Regions from separate parts of the Homo sapiens genome. Here all the other regions are linked to region 1. The links are contacts of gene promoters, found by promoter capture Hi-C in blood cells and fetal thymus (Javierre and others, 2016). All regions are on one chromosome and are shown on one strand. The core of a region is centred on a gene start or on the middle of the fragment in contact, and the rest is flanking DNA. Distances in the headings are between cores, read along the strand shown. Region 1 holds the start of ZDHHC14 (zDHHC palmitoyltransferase 14). Region 2 overlaps SNX9 (sorting nexin 9). Region 3 has its middle 67 kb from the start of SNX9. Region 4 overlaps ZDHHC14 (zDHHC palmitoyltransferase 14).

What was found. The method cuts DNA at HindIII sites, captures the fragments that hold promoters and counts their contacts. A CHiCAGO score of 5 or more calls a contact.
Region 2: a contact is called between a fragment that was not itself captured here and the fragment with the promoter of ZDHHC14 in region 1, in 2 of 17 cell types (naive CD4 T cells and total B cells). The highest score is 5.9, in naive CD4 T cells.
Region 3: a contact is called between a fragment that was not itself captured here and the fragment with the promoter of ZDHHC14 in region 1, in 2 of 17 cell types (naive B cells and activated CD4 T cells). The highest score is 5.4, in naive B cells.
Region 4: a contact is called between a fragment that was not itself captured here and the fragment with the promoter of ZDHHC14 in region 1, in 3 of 17 cell types (endothelial precursors, naive B cells and total B cells). The highest score is 7.6, in endothelial precursors.

What each region holds. Positions count from the first base shown.
Region 1 is chr6:157,379,847-157,382,697 of GRCh38, reverse strand. ZDHHC14 (zDHHC palmitoyltransferase 14) reads right to left here and starts at 1,508. Exons shown (of 9, transcript NM_024630.3): 1 at 432-1,508. The coding sequence starts at 676. LOC124901446 reads left to right here and starts at 1,607. Exons shown (of 1, transcript XM_047419644.1): 1 at 1,607-2,851. The coding sequence starts at 1,997. RefSeq lists enhancers at 451-590, 1,349-1,960, 2,572-2,851 and silencers at 681-730, 1,241-2,130, 2,291-2,370. The HindIII fragment of the contact is 8,143 bases long and covers 1-2,822 here.
Region 2 is chr6:157,872,917-157,875,767 of GRCh38, reverse strand. It overlaps SNX9 (sorting nexin 9), which reads right to left. Exons shown (of 18, transcript NM_016224.5): 3 at 2,592-2,666; 4 at 592-717. Among named protein-coding and RNA genes, the nearest start is that of SNX9-AS1, 19 kb to the left of the region's middle. RefSeq lists a silencer at 1,888-1,957. The HindIII fragment of the contact is 665 bases long and covers 1,131-1,795 here.
Region 3 is chr6:157,755,241-157,758,091 of GRCh38, reverse strand. No RefSeq gene overlaps it. Among named protein-coding and RNA genes, the nearest start is that of SNX9, 67 kb to the left of the region's middle. RefSeq lists a silencer at 2,481-2,775. The HindIII fragment of the contact is 2,142 bases long and covers 340-2,481 here.
Region 4 is chr6:157,656,666-157,659,516 of GRCh38, reverse strand. All of the region lies in intron 8 of ZDHHC14 (zDHHC palmitoyltransferase 14), which reads right to left. Among named protein-coding and RNA genes, the nearest start is that of MIR3692, 130 kb to the right of the region's middle. The HindIII fragment of the contact is 2,446 bases long and covers 379-2,824 here.

The sequences.
Region 1 (2,851 bases), core at 259-2,758:
GTCAGCAAGGGGGAAAAAGTCAGTTCCATGTATCCCTGACTTAGGAATCTATCGCACCCCACCTTCCCACGGCAGGCTACATCTGGGCTGATTTGCTGGGTCCCCAAACTCGGTAGAGAGCGCCCCAAGGATCAGGGACCGGCGGCCCCACCTGCTGGGTCCCATCCGCCACCTGGATTGGCAAGGCCTGGCCCCCCTTGCAAGTGGACCCCTTCCCTCCCTGCTCCCAGAAGCCCAGCCCAGAACGGCGTTCTTTCCGGGGGCCCAAAAGCAATCAGACCTTTAAAAGAAAAAAGAGGGAGCGCAGACTGGCATTATATAACAATTTACAGTAGATAAGACTTCTAGAAAACGAAAGCAGCCCGAGGAGGGGCGGGGGACAGGGGAGACCAGGGGAGTGCGGCGTCGGGGGAGCGGTCGCCACCACTTACTCGAAGGCGAAGAAGAGTCCGCTAGTGACCAGGATGAGGACGAGCGTCAGGTAGAAGACGCCCGTCTGCCGGGCCATCATGATCCTCCCGTTACAGAAGAACTTGTTTCTTCCCGGGAACACCTCCCATTTCCTCCGGGCCGCGATTTTCTTCTTCTTGTGGGGCGACTCCATGGGGGAGGAGCTGTGGGTGCTGATCTGGCTGTACTCGCAGTCTTTCATGGGCCCGCCGCCGCCGGGAGGCATCCACGAGGGCAGCCGGCTGGGGGCGCACACCCCCAGGAGCCCCCCGGCCGCGCGGGCCCCGCCGAGCCACGACCGCCGCCGGCCGCCCGGCCGCCCCCCGAGCCGCGGCGCCGCGGCCCCTACACGGGCTCCCGGCTCGGCGACAACTTTGCCGAGGACACCCAGGTTAACCCTCCGGGGAGCCCAACTGTCATAGCAGAATCCCCGCTCCGTGAGGGGACGGCGCTGGTCCGCAGCCCGCGGCAGCACTCCTCCGTCGCTTCCAGCCCGCGTCCCGGGGCGCGGGGCTCAGCCCGGCCGGCCCCCGGGTCGCCGAGCGCCCGCCCCCTCGCGCGGCTGCCCGCTCGGCCCCGCAGCCCCCGGCTCCCCGGCCGCGCCTCGGCTCTGGCCCGCCGACCCCCGAGCACTGCGCCCCGAGGGGACACGAGGCGGCGGCCCCGGCGCCGGCTTCCTCGGGAGCCACTTCTGCGGCGCGGCCAGGTTGGGTCCACTCCTTCCTCCGGCAGCGGATCCTCCCAGGAGAGAGCGCTGGCGACTGGGCGGCCGCGCGCGGCACCGGCAACCCCTCCCAGGGGTGGGGACAACCACGCACGTTTTTCTGTCAGGAGCCTCTCGGCGAGAGCCGGGGCGCCGCTCGCACCGCGACCCGGTGTCGCTGCGCCTGGCAGCCTAGTCGAATCCGCGGCCCCCGCGCGGGGATGCGCGGGCCGAGGGCGGCGGCGGCTCGCGGGCCGCGCGGCGAGGGCTCCCTTGCTCCCTCCTACCCGGAGGAAGCGGCCCCGGCGCGAGGAGGGCCGCGGGGACACAGCACAGACACTTGTTTGCAAGGCTCAGCCCGGCGCGCGCGCGGCGCTCCGAGTGGGTCCGCCTCCTCCGGGCCGGGTGGGCGGTGGCCTCGCGCCTCACCCGCGGCTCCTCCTCCTGCTCCTCCTCCTCCTCGCCCGCGAAGCCAGGGCACCGGCGCAGCGAGATTCCAGCCCCAGCCCCCTCGGGCGGGCGCCCTGGGGTGTGGAAGGCGCGGGGCTCCCTGTGGCATCGCCCAAGTAGGGATGGGGTCGGGCGCCCGCGGCCCCGCCGCGCAGTGCGCTCCTGGCCGACTTCAGTCCGTCTCGCGGCTTCTTCCGGGTTTATCCCGCGCAGCAGCTGCCGCCTCGGGACACGCTCATTCCCACGGCCACCGGCAAGCCACTCCTGGCGACTCCCCGGGACCTGAGGAGCCGCGGCGCGGAGGTGACCCTCCCCGGCCTGCGCCTCCCTTCTTCCTCCTCCCCAGCTGGGCGCGTGGTCGCGTCGCCCGGGGACTCTGGTGATGCCCGAGAAATGGGCTGGGGGTGCCGGGTGCCAGGATGGGGTGGGGCGGCCCTAGGCCGGCCTGACTTCGGGACCGGGCTGCGGGCGAGGGTCTCGGGGCCCGGCTCGGCCGGCTTCCGGGCCGAGAAAGAAGGGCAGAGGAAGCGGTCAGGGTCCCCTCCGGCCCCGGCCTCCCTCCCGGAGTATAAGCCCTTGGAGGCCAGGTTTTGGGTTGCTGCCGCCCAGCTCTTTCGGTCTCCACTTCTCCCCACGGACGTTTACAGCTGCTCGCTTTATTTCTCCCTCCATTCCCCCGTGGAGCCCCCTCGGCAGCGGAGGGGTCGCGTGCTTCTCCTCTCCCGCCTGCGCCTCCCCCCTTCCCACCCGACAGCCCAGGAGGAGCTGCGGGCGCGGCCCTGGGACGGCCGGAGCCTGGGGCTTCTGCTCGCTCGCGCCCTCCCAGGCGTTGCCGCGGGTCCGAGCCCCCGCAGAGGTGGGCATAGCCCCGGGGCCGCAGAAAACGAAGGCAGCTGGGCAGGGATGCTCAATTTCCCGAGCCCCACTTTCCTTTCACAGCCCACTGGGATGTGTAGTTCTTCCGCCCGCAGGCCTGCGCCGAGGAGAAGCACGACTCGGGGCCTTAGAAACTACAAGTCCCTGCATCCCCCGCGACAAGGGCAGGAGAGGCGTGGTGCTGGGCGTTCTGGGGCTAGGTGGTGGGAGATGGGAACCAACAAAGGGGGTTGTGGGGAACGGTGCCTTCTCTGTACTGGGCAGTTTGCACGTTACACATGTTCTTTGTCTAATCTTCGCCGGAACCCGGTGAGGCATTATTGTATCCAGCTTAGAGAAAGCTTAACTACTGGCCAAACATCACAAAGCTCC
Region 2 (2,851 bases), core at 214-2,713, 490 kb before region 1:
CTAAACTAGTCAAATTTTAATTAAAATTAATGTAAAATTTCCTTGTATTCTTCTCAAGTTATCCCACTATTCTAAGTTTCCTGGAAGCAATACAATAAGAGTACCAAGTGCTGAGTGCCTGGATCTGGTAGACTTTCACAGGCACTGCTTCTACTCGCAGGATGAGGGCCTCTAGCTCTGAGAGTGTAAGCAACATGCCAGGGCCAGGGCATCTATTTCCTGATCCAGGCCGAGGCTCTGACACTGACCTCCTCAACAACAAGAGCCTCCTCTTCTTCCTCTTCTTTCCATGCCTTTATCTAAGAGGGTATTTGCAGTTTCTGGGGTCTGTGTTCATATCATGACAGACTTCTAAAAGCAACCCTCAATACCCTGCCTTTTCTCTTATAATAAATTTTGCAAACAGTCATTATCAGGCTTAACAGGTGATTTCTTTGTTAGTACCCAACAGAAATGCCACAGAACAACCTAAAAGCGACTTTGTTTTTGCTTTTGGGGAATGGCAATAGCTATAATGCATCACAAGCCTTCACAAATACGCTCTGTTTTCCGTAAAGCCAGCCACATCCAGAAGGAGGAAGTGAGACGTACCTGGTGATTGTTGCTGGCAGCCGACGAACTGGCCTGAGCTGTGCTGGCTGAGAGAGAATCAAGGAAGGCTTGGTCAGCCACTGAATTTCCACAAGAAAATTGATCTTTTCCATCACTGGGTAAAATCTGAATAGGAGAAAGAGCCGCAATTATTTTCATAGATTACGGTCACTTCAGGGAGTCTTCGAGGGCAAGCAAGAATTGTCAAAAAGGGTTTATATTCTTCAATGCTACAAATTTCTCTGTAAGCACTGCTTTTGCCGCATACTCATATTTTAATGGGTTGTATTTTCATTTTTATTTAGTTCAAACTATTTTTTAATTTCTCGAGATTTCTTCTTTGATCCATGCATTATTTAGAAGTGGATTGTTCAATCTCTAAGTATTTACAGATTTTCCATCTATCTTTCTGTTTTGATTTCTAGTGTGATTCCATTGTGGTCTCAGGGCAGACACTGTATGATTTCTTTCAAACATGTTGAGGTATGTTTTATGGCTCAGAATATGTGGTCTGTCTTAGAGAATGTTCCATGTAAGCTTGAAAAGAATGTGTATGCTGCTGTGGTTTGATGAAGCAGTCTATAGATGTCCCTAAGTGGACATCAATTTATTGATGGTGCTGAGTTCAACCACGTCCTTACTGATTTTCTGCCTGCAGGATCTATTTCTAATAGAGGGGGTTTTATATTCTTAAAGGTAAGCAAACCCAAGAATATCTGTAATCACTATTCCTTTATATAAGCAGAATCCTAGAAAATCCAATTACTGCCAATATCAACTTAAATTCTCAGATTTTTCTCAATCTTGTCAATTTGTGGGCTCCTGGATGCAAAGTGCATACAAGTAAAACAAGACTTCAACATAAGACCTACGGAGTGAGGCCAGGGGCCTGTGAATAGGGGGTTGCAGTTGTATGGAAAAGGCTGTGGTGTGTGCATGGGCACACGTTTCTGAGGGAAAGCCTAGAGATTGCATCGGATTCTCTGAGGGGTCATGACTCCCCACCCTCACTGTCTATCAACAACAGAAGGACGGCCTTAGATCTCACTCTGCAGACAGGTCCCAGGTAAACATCCTCTGGGGGGAATTCTTTTCTCCTGGAGGTGAACCAAAGGTACCTTTATTCTTGATCTAGCTCCAGTTGTACTCACAGGGCATCAGGAAACCTTCGCTTCTTTCTGTCACCCAACATGAAAGACAAGCTTACCAAGAACCTTCGCTCGGTTTGGAGGGACCGAAAGACAACCAGCAGGGGGCGCCAGGTGGTTGGCTCAGCTTGGGGGTGTCCCAGGCAGGACCAGCCCAGGCTGCTGTGTTGCTCTCCTGGGTATCCATCCTAACAGCTCTACCCAGGAGATCCCCACAGCAGCTCCCCCAAGACACCCCTCTGTCTATGGGAATGGGAGAAGGAACTGAGATATGCACTTAAAAAAATCTATTTAAACTGTGAGTCTATTGTACAATAAACAATATTATAGATGGCAGCAATATCAGCAAAGGAAAAATACGTTATATGTGTCATATTATAAATATATATCTATATTTATAATTTATATAATTTATAATACATTTTATAAAATTTATATATTTTGCTTATAAAAATATAAATATATATTTAAAATGTATATATTAACAGATATATTGAGATATAATTTCATATATCTTATTGAATTTATACAATTTATAATATATATTTATAATATAGATAATATTAGCAAAGGAAAAATACTAACTTTTATTCAGACCAATTAAAAGTTGCTATCCCTGGAAGAAACTTAACCTAAATATCTGTAGTCATTCTTTGAAGCTTGGGTCTACAGGTAATATTTTTCTTAGTTCTATTTCAATGTAGTTTCCATATTTTATATAGTTAACATTTATTATATTTACAATGGAAATTTTGTTTTGCAAAAAGTTGCTGACTTCTTGTAAGTTGATAATTCATAAAAAGATGCCTGGCAAAGATGAGCTCTAATGAATGAATGACAGGAAGCTCTTACTTCAACGTAGTCTGTGGGAACCAGCCCTCGTTCTCCTTTGATGTTTCTTCCTTCCAGCCATCCTCCACCTACATCCTAATAAGTCACCAAAAAAAAAAAAAAAAGAAAAAGATTACAGTTGAGATTTCCTGGAGAAATTTTGTGTGGAGGAATTGTTATACATAAAAAAAGCAATTAACATTAAGCTTTTCATTCCTAGAGAACACCGTTCAAAATCTTAAATTCTTAAGCCTTCTCTTTACTTCAGAAAATGATGTAAC
Region 3 (2,851 bases), core at 161-2,660, 380 kb before region 1:
TCAAGTGATCCTCCTGCCTCAGCCTCCTGAGTAAGTGGGACTACAGGCATGCACCACCATGGCCGGCTAATTTTTAATTTCTTTTTGTGGAGACGAGGTCCTGCTATGTTGCCCAAGCTCCTCAAACTCCTGGCCTCCCCATCTGCTTCTTAGTCTTCTTGTTACCATTCCTCCTGAGACCTACGCTCCAGCTGTGGGGACATTTCTCAGGCCTACCCCCTATGCTGGTGCCAACCCCTTCACCCAGAATCCCTCCACCCGACGCCAGCCCTAGCCCCTATTCCTTTCTTTGATTGCCTGCTCCTAGTCATCCTTCAAAGCTTGGTTCAGCTGCAAGCTTCCCAGTATGGCTGTGCAAGGGGCATTGCAAAGAGGTGGAGGGTGCCCTGTGCACATCTGAGGTCACTGTAGATTATGACAATTTTCTGGTACATAGTGATAAAATGAATGGTGCCACTGAGGTCATCAGCAGGGCAACTTCTGTCACTTCCTCCTGGAAATGTTCACTGGCCCTCCCAGTTTGCGTTGGGTGACTCTTCTCTGTCATGGCCATGTCATACCAAACTGTGACTGTTTATTAGTATCCATGCTCTTTTGGAGGATGAGCTCTTGGAGGACAGGACCGTGTCCTTCCCTTCTGTATACCTGGCACAAGAACTGATGGGCAGTCCGTGAAGGTTTGTTGAGTGAATGAGCGTGTCCCCGGTAACAGAGTGCCGTGGATAAGGCCCCAGGATCCTGAGTTAGAATCCTGGTGCTGCCTCTCCCATGCAGGGTGACTTAGACACAGCACTCCACAAGTAGCCACCCCATACCTCATACAAAGAGTATGGGGCTCAAGTGAGAAAGTGGCTGCCAAGCACTGAGGGAATGCATGGTGATTCTTACGACTGAATATTTTCCAGTGCTGAAGCTGCTTCTGTGTTGTGCTTCCTAGTCCACTTTTCTGGACTCCCTCTCTCGGTTTGTTTATTATTATTTTAATCCTCCTGAGTTTTACTAGAGAGGCAGCACCATCTTGGTAAATATCTTAACTGCCAGCTCCTGGTGGGGGGAGGGGGTGGAAGTTGAAGTGGAATTCAGTGCAGTGATGTGTGAGATAATGGAACACACACACATTACAGCTAAAGTCCAAGGGAAAGGCTGTCAGAATTAGCTGGATTCTCCCGGCGTCCTCTCTGCACCGGGGCTTGCGATCTGGCCCTCGGCCGCAGGTTGGCACAGCCTGCTTTGTTGCTGAGATGCCCAGTTTCCTCTCGCTCCTGCCCTCTGCTGGCCGGAATCAGATTCTTTCCCGCATATTTGACTCTGTTGCCTCTGGGGATCCGCCTGGGGATCCGCCTGCGTCTCGGGGGCCTGGTTTTCTTTGCTTATTCACTTGCTTGCTGGAGTGTCTATTCCCTGCTTGCTGCATTAGAAGCTATGGGGTACACAAGTGATGCTGGTCCTCAAAGTCCACCTTCAAGGAGCAAGAAATTTGGATAATCTTGGAGAAGCAGAAGCCAGGACCTCAATCCAGAACTCTGTGCCTGGAGCAATGAAGGAGTTATTGTCCCCAGACATGGCACACCAGATTGCAAATTTATAAAGACAGGGAATCATACTTATGTAGAGCTTCGCAATTTACAGAGCACCAAGACATACATTTTCCAATTTAACTCTTTTTTTTTTTTTAGACAGAGTCTCACTCTGTTGCCCAGCTAGAGTGCAGAGTGCAGAGGAACAATCACAGCTCACTGCAACCTCCACCTCCTGGGTTCAAGCAATCCTCCTGCCTCAGCCCCCCAAGTACTTGGGTCTACAGGCACTTGCCACCACGCCCAGCCAATTTTTGTATTTTTTGTAGAGACAGGGTTTCACCATGTTGCCCAGGCTGGTCTTGAACTCCTGACCTCAAGTGATCTGCTTACCTCAGCCTCCCAAAGTGTAGGGATTACAGGCATGAGCCACCATGCCTAGCTAATTTAACCCTTTCAAGCAAACCACTGAGGATGGTATTAATGAAATAAAATAGAAATTGTGTTGGGAGACTGACATTTACTGTCATCAGATGTGATTACTGGCAAACATCTTGTTAGTCAGCTGATGTTATGTCTCACCTCAAAGGACACACTTGATGGGTGGGTGGGGGAAAGCCAGTAAGCCAGGAGTTTCAAAGGAACACTGTGTGGTCTGACCCACACTGTCTTTCCGTAGCATCTGAACTTTCTGTCCCTGCCTCTCCAGCAATGTCTGAGAAGATCAAAGTCTGAGGAGACAGATGTGACTCCTGGAGAGGCATCCAATGGGTAGTTCTCCACTTCTGCCTTGCAACCGTGATCCCAGAAATTCTGAAAGGGCACTTTTAGGATTAAAAGCATTTAGCTTCGTTTCTTCCTTTGTAGGAATGGAAAATCAAAATCACTCTGAAGTCGTGGTTTCTTTTAAGATGCAAAACAACTCCTTTCAAGCCATTGCTTTTAAATCTCTCACATTCAAGCTTAAATCAGTGAGTGACATTGTCACCGTATAATCCGACTGAGTTAAATCGAATAGTGGGAAAGTGGCCTTTTCTTTCTTTAATCTTTGACAAAATAAGGCAAATTCTAAAATTATGCCCAACAGTCTATCAGTAGTCTTTGTTGTTCCACATGTTCAAAGAGAAATGTCTATAAACTCTCAGCTGGTGTTTTTCTAACCCGGAGGCATTCTCTTCCCTACCAGGAAGGGAGGAGTGACTAACATATGATGCTGAGAGAGGCCACTAGGAAAGAGATGGCTGAGAGGGAGAATTTCTCCCGGTGTCAGAGGCATGCGAACCAGAGCAACTCCATCTTGAATACAGAGCTGGGTAAAATGAGGCGGAGACCTA
Region 4 (2,851 bases), core at 352-2,851, 280 kb before region 1:
CAGTGGCCCCAGAGAATTTGTACTGTTGTCAGTCTTGAAATATTTCAGCTCATTTGTCCGTGTTTTGACAATTCCTGGAAATTAATTGGTACGCGTATTTCTCATGGCCCTAACATGACGCAAAGCGGGAGAAAGCAAAGCAACAGTGCGGGGCCCGGAGACCACGCTGGAACTCGCTCTGCTAGAGGTTCCCAGGTCTCTCGGCTGGCATGTGCATTTCACAGAATGTTTAAAAAATACAAAATACCAATTTCTCCCCTTCAGGGCTTACTTCAAGTGCCTCTTGACTTTCACTGAAGTCTTTGACTGCTTCTTCTCTTCCCCTCCAGTTTTACAAATTATTCTCATTTTCAATTTAACTTTTTCAGTCCTTAAGCTTCCCTCATCTATTTTCATAATAAAACAATATTGACAGATGAGAAAACGGTAACAAATTAGATAACTTAGATGAAATGGATAAATTCCTAGAAAGACACATACCACTGAGACTGACCCAAGGGAAAAGTAAAAAATCTGAATAGACCTATAATAAGTAGAGTGAATTAGTAATCAAAACAATACCCATGGAGAAAGTTCAAGACTAAATGGCTTTCCTGGCAAATTGTCCCAAATCTTTAAAGATGAATTAACAGCAGTTCTTCACAAACTTTTCGAGACAGAAGAGTAAGAAGCACTTCTCAACTCCTTCCATGAAGCCGGTATTACCCCGATACCAACACCAGACAAAGACTTCACGAGAAAATAAAACTACAGACAATTCCCTTATGAATACAGACAGAACGATCCTTAACAAAATACTAGCAAACTGAATTTAGCAACATATAAAAAGGATTATATACCATGGCCAAGTAGGATTTATCCCATAAATTCAAGAAATAGGAGACAAATAAGAAAAGCAACACACACTCCTACTCTCAAGAAAGTTCTGGTATGACGGCCAGACTGCGCATAGCCCCACAGCACACCCCCAATCCTGTGTCAAGTGCGGGCTTAGTCAGTTTGGGGGCTGTTGGTCAGGGTGGGTGGGAGGAGAGGAGGAGCTGAGAGTCACGGTGTTTACCTTCTTCTGGGGTTTGGAGAGCTCTTTCTGGCATGTGTGGACTGAGATGTTGTCTCTGCCCTCCTAATCTCCTGGTGGAGCTGCAAGGATCAGAGACTCACAAAAGGCTCACAGCTAAAAGGGGGCTTTAGGTACAAATTAATCCCACCTCCTATTTTGCAGATGAGGAAAACTGAGGACCAGTGAGGCAAGAGTGACCTGCCAATCATCAGGGAACTAACTGGCAGGAGCCAGAATGGGAGCTCTCATTCCCTGGTTCCCATTCTGGGCTCTTTCCCTCATGCCAGTCATCTCTATTATTTTCCGGTTGCTCCAAGAGGGTACAGTTGAGCTCGCTCATCTTGCCACTCATGGGTCTCAGGGGGATAATAATAATAGCCGACACTTAAATAGTACTTTTCTTCTACTAGGCAAGGTTTTAAGTGCTTGACATGTCTTAACTTAATCCTCATAGAAACCCTACAAGGTAAGAATATCAATGTTCCCATTTTATAGATGAAAACACTGAGGCAGAGAGAGGTTAAGCAACTCATCAAGGTCATGCTTCTAGTAAGCGGTAGCAGTCTGGTCTCCACACAGTGAATCCCCATCTCCAATGTTCCTCTTCCAGATGGGGATAAAAAGGCATCTTAAAGCCTGCTGGCTGACTCGAAAGCATTTAGCATGTGGAACAGATGTCTCTGTACAGCTTTTATCACTGGCTGGAACATCCTGCTTAGGGGACTTGACTATACAATTCTGTGCTATTACCAAATCCGGAGTAGTGCTTATACGCGTATGACTCCCAGGATGTTGAGATTTCTTACAGTTTTGTCTCTGGTATGGAGGCGGTAGACCATGGTACTCACTGATGGAGGGCTTCTTTAGCATGGGGTCCATGGGCTTTAAAGCAAGACCTTGATCCTGAGATTTCGTGCACATATCATGTGCCTGAGCCTAGACTCACTGGGCATGGATTCGCTGGGGCTGTGACGCTGGAGTGTTTTTGTACCGAACAGCTCCCAGGTGCATGTGAGCCTTGTTCACTTCTTTATACCCAACAGTGCTTTCAAGCCTTCCCCTGGAAGCTCTCTGGAAAGATCTGTGCATGCCTGAGTAAAGGAATGAATGGCCGTGTGCAGTGGCTTACACTTGTAATCTCAACACTTTGGGAGGCTGAGGCAGGTGGATCGCTTGAGGTCAGGAGTTCGAGACCAGCCTGGGCAACATGGCAAAACTGTCTCTACAAAAAATGCAAAAATTAGCTGGGCATGGTGGCACATGCCTGTGGTCCCAGCTACTCAGGAGGCTGAGGTAGGAGGATCACCTTGAGACCAGGAGGTGAAGGTTGCAGTGAGCTGAGATTTCACCACTGCACTTCAGCCTGGGCGACAGAGTGAGACCCTGTCTTAAAAAAAAAAAATACAAATACCCTTTGTGTGTACGGATGGCAAGAAGATGCTACAGGAGATGTGAAGCCACCTACACTCAGGTATGCATGGCAGAGAGTGCACTGTCACCCTGGGCAGGTGACCAGGGCCGCAGGTCCTTACTCAATCCCACCATGATTCTGTATGCCATCAGCCTGAGGCCAGCAGTGAAGAGGCTCTGCTTCCAGGTCCAGAGCTCCTCCTGATCTGCCTGGTGCTCAGTGGCATGGTGATGTCGCATGCAGCTCTTTCCTGGGGTGTTCAGACTGTCTCATCCTCAGTCACAGCAGAGAACAGGAGGGCAAGGAGTCTTGTTTTTTTTTTTTTTGTTTTTTTTTTTTGGTATCTTCAAGCTTCCTGACACAGTGCTCAAGCCCACAGA